2 separate regions of the Homo sapiens genome follow, and region 2 is linked to region 1. Evidence: promoter capture Hi-C in 16 types of primary human blood cells and fetal thymus (Javierre and others, 2016). All regions are on one chromosome and are shown on one strand. The core of a region is centred on a gene start or on the middle of the fragment in contact, and the rest is flanking DNA. Distances in the headings are between cores, read along the strand shown. Region 1 holds the start of AGL (amylo-alpha-1,6-glucosidase and 4-alpha-glucanotransferase). Region 2 overlaps CDC14A (cell division cycle 14A).

Region 1 (3,300 bases), core at 421-2,920:
AATCAAAACCAGAAAAGTGCAGAGTCAGGAAAGCCAAAAATGGAGTAGGTACTCAGTGATTTTAAATGCCAAAGTTGGAAAAAGGCGCGGATTTGGCATGAAGATATCACATTGTATGTGTGAAATTTTTTTCAAAAATTTAATTCTTAAAACATTAGCGAAATTTAAAAATTCCTTTGAAATGTTTATGACTAGCAACATCCATTTGGTACATTAATAAGGGGGACTGGATTTTTCATATATTACACTTCTTCAATGTTGAAAAATTACAAAGGCTAAGAAAATAAAACATCTATTAACTAGCCTTGTAGAAAAGTAATTTGATCTTTTAAATACAGATCAACTATATATAGTTCAACATAACCAGATGAGTTATTGCACTTTTTATTTGCTAAGAAAATATTTTCAGCTTTTACCTACTCCACATTTGAGAAGTTTTTGATATACATAAACAATAGTTTACTATACTTTTTGCTGCAATCTATTTTGTCAATTCAAAGGTTCAACAAAGGAAAAGAGACAGTTATACAAAGGCAAAACTACATGCATACCCAAAGCAAAATTACATATGAAGTAATTTACCAAGTTTTAATAGTAAATGTTATTAGAAATAATATGGGCAATCTTCTGATCATATATTTAACTTCAATCTTAAGTGGGAATTAGTACGCAGAGAAAAGAGAACTATTTTATCCTTATCCTAACACGAGGGATATAAAATATTTTTAATTCAAATCAACATTAATTAGTGATATATGGAGAACACAGCACCATCTTTGCACAAATCAAGTTTTAGACCCTTGGAAATAATATTTATCTTAGAGCTTTAAAACATTTAACAGGACTGCCAATGAATTAAAAGTTTAAAAGACGCAAATGAGCAAATCAAAACAACTTGCTACTGACCTTGTTCAAGTCTGAAGAGGGTCTTTTCCAGTTTCTCCATTTCGTTCAGAAGTAAAATTCGAATCTGTTTACTGTGTCCCATTTTGGCTTCTAGAGGATTTGAAATCTTTCATAAGAATTAAAAGAACTCCACAGTCGAATGAGTTACCCCTATGAAACAAAAAGGAGTTAAAATATCGAAAATAACTATTGCCTTAAACTCTCCAGAGCTGACAGCGGCACTTACATGTTCGAAGTGTGTTTTATGCCTAGCAGAGCAATGAAAGAGAATGAATCTTATAACTATTAAGATTCGAGAAGGCAAATTAATAGTTGTTTCCTGCCTTTGAGCACAACGAATAAGACCGAAATAAAAATGCTGTATTACAGATTCTTACAATTAAAAAATTAAAAACCTAGACCATTCTCAGAGAAAAGCAATACACTTAGGAAAGCCTGAAGTCAGGGGGACATTCCCAGCCCCAAGCCACAGGGCTCTGGAGACTCCGAATGGCACTTCTGCTTACAAGAGATTAGTCTGCTCAAAGATAACAGGTGGGCAATCTCCCCATTCCCAAATTCGGGTCGCCAGCCACCAATGGGGAGATGAGAACAGAGGGAAGCAGTTGTTGCCTCTGGAATAGCTGCCGTAGACAGAAGATGTACAGAGCGAGCTATAGATAGAAAGAATGCGTTTCCCCGCGAGGCCAGCGGCATTCCTAGCACTTACGCCGAGGGAGTTATACGTGCGGCTTCTGGGGCACTGCAGGACCCGCGACTCTGGTGCTACGGTCGGGGGGAGGGGACGGGGAGAAACAGAAGGGGAAGGGCTGGCTGCCCAGCCTCGCACAGAAGCCGCAGCCCAAGGAGGGCCGGGCGCCGTGAAGGGCAAAGGGAGGGGCGGCGAGCGACCGGGGCAGCGCCGAGGCAGCTGGGTGAGAAGCAGGCAGAGTCTCAGCGACTTCGCCTCGCGCGGGTTCCTGGGCGCACCCGGTACCCAACCTGGCCGTGCGCGCACTCGCCCCAGGTGGGAGCGGACCGTACCTCTGGCCCACTTCCGGGAGGCTCGACCCGCCCGCCCCGACCGCTAGTCTCGCGAGAGCGTGGGCACCGCACCGTCTCAGTCGGCTCCGGGCCGGGGGACCTGGAGCCTGCTGCGGCTGAGGCCGGGAGCGGCGCTTTCTCCTTGCCCTGGGGAAGGTGCACCGGCCAAGGCGCGGCCTTCCTTTAACAGCCTGCGAGCTCACAGTTGCACATTAAAATCCCGCGGTACCGGCTGCGAGCTAGGTTGAGCTGCACAGTAGGATCTTTTGCTGGGAAGGGCTGAATGGTGAGGGGCAAACGACCTGGCTTCTGGTGTCTTTTGTGCCACCACGTGTTTTGTTTCTTTGTTTTGATAATTTTTACTTGGCCTAAGTTCTCAGAGTCCTGATTTCTAAGTGTCTAAAATAAGGGGCCTGGCTACAGCCTTGACATTCCAGCCAACACGTGTCCATCACTTCTAGTGCTAACAGACAGGACACATGTTCCTGAATGCAGACCCAGTAGGTAAGGTGTGGCCAGTCTGCAAACCATCGAGAGTGCAAACACCACTGATACTTAACGGTGTCCGGGTGTACCTCATGTACACTAGATAGACCCGGAGATCGTCTGAGATTAAGCTGCACTTATGTTAGGCCAGTAACTCAGAACTTTTTGCAGATGCTTAAGGAGATTTAATGCCTGAGGGTAAAGGAAAACCCATCTTCCAGGGCTTTTGGAGGGCTCCTAATGGTTATGAGAAAATGGACAGAAGATTTGGTTAACTAAGACTTGTGGCGTGTGGAGAAGATTCTTGCATTCTTTATTGTGGAATGACTGTAGGTCCAAAGAGGATATAAGTTAAAAAAAAAAACCCCATACTGAAGTATTTGTTTATTTCTGTAGATTTCTGAGAATGGCTAGTTGCAAATGGTCCGTAACTGACTTTGGGAACCCACAGCTCATTTTCTGGCCCCTACTATTTGCCAGGCACATAAGGTGCTGGGAATGCAGCAATAAAACAGTCACTGCCCTCAAGGAACTCCTACATTTTATTGGTGGGAGACAGATAAATTAAATAAATTATACAGGATATAATATATCCTATATAATAAGAAGGATATGTTATATCCTATATATAATAGGAAGGGGGAAGTGTGGAAGAGTAAGCAGAGAGAGGTTTGCATTTCTAAATATAACGTTCAGTAAAGTGATGCCAAACTGCGAGAAAGAAGAAGTCTAAGGTAGAGGGTTACATGTAGAGGTATAGGAAGTACAAAGGCCATGAGGCAGGAGCATACTTGGTGAACCGAAGAAGATCACCATAGCTGAGTGAAGAAGAGAGTGGTAAGAGATTAGGACAGACAGATGGGGCAGGAGAAGGGATCAGGAGCA
Region 2 (3,274 bases), core at 20-2,519, 530 kb before region 1:
ACATACAAAATTGTATAATTTCAAGGGTTTATGGATCCCTTGAATTACCAGAATAATAATTCCAGCTCAAGGCTATCAATCATTGATGACATTTAACATTAAATAACATACACAGTTTAACAAATTGTTCTCACTTCAATGCATCTTCCCTCTTTTGATTGCTTCCCCTATCCTAGGGGAAAGACCAAACAGCAACCTATTACTGCCTAATTCCTAGTACTGACAATTTTTTAAAGTACAGTTTAAATAAGCAGCAGGTTTTTTATTGGTGATGATGCATTTTATGTTTGGATTTTTAATCTAAGCATATGTTTGATGGGATAATTTTCCATTCTGATTGACATAATTAAAATAAGGACATTGGGAATAGAATGCATATAGACACAGAAACACAAAAATAGCGATAAATCACCAACTCAAATCATCAACTGGAAAAAAACATCTTCTCATTTCAAAAATGAGAAATTTGGGATTGGAATAAAATGTACAGCAAAATATTACCTATCTATATAAAGCACAGAATGAGGAAGAAAAATCACACAAGCTTTCTTGGAAGGAATAAAAATTTCCAAACTAAAAAATGAAATGTGCCTAAAAGAACTGGGAAATCACACAAGAGAAGAATCCTAAGACGAAGTTACTAGTTAACACAGTGCGAAATTACTCAGAGAAGTAAAGGAGTTTGAGGATCCAGCAAGTGCCATCAGATTCAGCATTTAAGACGTTATTAGAGCAGTTTCGGTAGAGTAGGGAAGGCAAAAGTTAGATAACAAAGGGTTAAGAAATCAGCACACAGGAAGGATGGAGGCAGGCTCTTCTTCTGAAACCTCTGGAAGCAAAAGGAGAAAGGGGGATCTGCAAATGAAGGGGATCATGACAAAGTCAAAAGAAGTCTCTGTGTGTCTGTTGTCCCTGCACTAGGCACTGAGAACACAAAGATACATGACATCCTCCACCTTCCACCCTCTAGAAGCTCATAGTCTAGTGAGAATGACAGGTGCAAACAGGTAATTACAATTCATCAACGATACAGATCTGCACAGAGAATGATGGGAAAACAAGGGAGGCACCCTCAATCCAGTCCAAAAGGACAAGAAGATGCTTCCTAAAGGGTGGTGGCTGGACAAGGTATTAAAGAATGAAGAGCTATCAAGCCAGAGGGTAAGGGCATCCCAGTCAGACTGGTCTTCATGAGCAAATGCATGGAACAGCTGGTATGGTAGAGTAAAGTGCAAGGCTGGGAGTGGCAAGGGTACTGCTGCTTCCCAGTAAATTAGTGCATGAAATCATCCACTGGGAAAACAACAAGGGTGAGAGCTGGCAAGGCAGAAAGACAAGAAAGCAAAGTACCCAAGACCTTACTGAAGTAAGTGACCATGGGCTGCAGGCAAGAGACATCAGCAGGGTGCCAGTGGACTGAGAGAACAGGGAGACTGAAGGTCTAGCAATCCCAGTAGTGTGAGAGGGACAGAATGTGCAAAGTGAGTAACAAAGGCATTTTCCAAGTGGGAGAATCTGGAGTCTGGGTTCGTGGAAGTGAAGCAGACAGAATGGCCCTAACACTTACTGGAATGAAAGAGGCAGAGGAGCCTCAAAGTCAGCGTGGGACAACAAGGTCAGGTAGCTGGGGCAATGCTAAGAGTGAACAAAGGATGACTGTAAACCAGAGGCTATGGTTCCTACTGAAGGTGGAAAGAAGAACAGGAAAAATGTGGTCAAGAGCCATGAAATCTAGCCCTGACTTTGCCTGCTGCACTGGGCAAGTCACACACCTTTCCCAGGCTTCCCTTTCTGAGTCTTGACTAAATGGTCATTTAGATTCCTAAAATTATATTGGACAGCTTTCCCATATATAAACAATAGCTTTAAGGCTGAGAAACAGGTGTTCATCGATTTTGTAGAAGAACTGTCTTTATTATATTCCCTATCAGAATTCACAAATGTTACATTGGTAACTTTATTATGTATAGGACTTTAAAATGTACAAAGCTTTTACATATTGATATAGTTTGGATATTTGTCCTCTCCAAATCTCACGTGATCCCCAGTGTTAAGAGGTGGGGCCTTGGGTCATGGGGGCAGATCCCTCATGAACGGCTCGGTGCCATTCTGAGGGGATTGAGTGGGTTTTCACTCTTAGTTCCCCCAAGATTTTGTTGTTAAAAAGAGTGTGGCACCTCCCTCCCCTCTCCCTTGCTCCCTCTCTTGCCATATGACATGACTGTTCCCCTTGACCTTCTGCCTTGAGTGAAAGCTTCCTGAGGGACTCACCAGAAGCAGATGTTGGTGCCACGATTCATGTACAGCCTGTGGAACCATGAGCTATATAAAACTCTTTTCTTTATAAATTACCTAGCCTCTGGTATTCCTTTATAGCAATGCAAAACAGACTAAGACATGTTTTCTAATATAATACTAACCACCACCCTGTGACAGTTCTATAATTCCTATTTTACAGATGAAGAAACTAAGATTCCACAAAACTGAAGCAATTCCAACTTTGGACTGGTACAGTAAATCTTTTTCTCCTAATTAGAGATTCTATGTAGTATGCTTCATTGAGACAACTCATGACTTATCAACATTTGGGTTTTTAAAATTCAATCATTCAGCAAGTAATGCAGTGCCCATTAATTGTCCTAAAGCTACATATGTCATTCCAGACAACCAACAGATTACCTTACCACTAAAATGAACCAAGGAGAGTGTTTAAACTTTATTAATAATGTCGAAACACAGCATTATAAATGAAAGCAAATAGAAACAAGTTTACATACATATACTTACCATACTGTTCAGTGTAGAAAATGGTAGAAAAAATACTCTCAACTCAACCCATCTACTCTTCTGCAACTGCTATAAGTAGAACACTGAGTCAGACCAGTGATTTTACTTTCCTGATAATGACTCCTTTCTCTTTGGCTACCCTAGATAGTACTCGGTTCCCAGATTAATTATAATACCCAATTCATACCAACTACATACTAATGACTAATCAAGACAGCAAAGAAATTCCTTGGTCTTCAAAAGAAAAAAATAGACTTCCATTATTTATTAATTATCCTTTTCTTGTTTACTCAGCCATTAAAAGTTCATTTTCTATAAAAAGGATATTATTTACTTCCTAGGTGATTGCAAAAACCTCTATTTTACTTTCTAAAATACTGGCTTCTTTTCTTAAAAACAGATCTGGCTTAATTAAAGGAATTTACATGTATCTTTTCAAGTCAGACAACTTTGTAAGTTAATTCCTACAAAAGTTGAGTAAAACAGA

What was found. Contacts are between HindIII fragments. The CHiCAGO score rates a contact against its expected background, and 5 or more counts as called.
Region 2: a contact is called between a fragment that was not itself captured here and the fragment with the promoter of AGL in region 1, in 1 of 17 cell types (fetal thymus). The highest score is 5.2, in fetal thymus.

Annotation. Positions count from the first base shown.
Region 1 is chr1:99,848,731-99,852,030 of GRCh38, reverse strand. AGL (amylo-alpha-1,6-glucosidase and 4-alpha-glucanotransferase) reads right to left here and starts at 1,670. Exons shown (of 34, transcript NM_000642.3): 1 at 1,616-1,670; 2 at 907-1,056. The coding sequence starts at 988. RefSeq lists enhancers at 576-1,549, 2,200-2,349, 1,550-2,524 and a silencer at 1,700-2,019. The HindIII fragment of the contact is 4,640 bases long and covers 1-3,300 here.
Region 2 is chr1:100,378,769-100,382,042 of GRCh38, reverse strand. The region is part of intron 3 of CDC14A (cell division cycle 14A); the gene reads right to left. Among named protein-coding and RNA genes, the nearest start is that of CDC14A, 28 kb to the right of the region's middle. The HindIII fragment of the contact is 1,445 bases long and covers 547-1,991 here.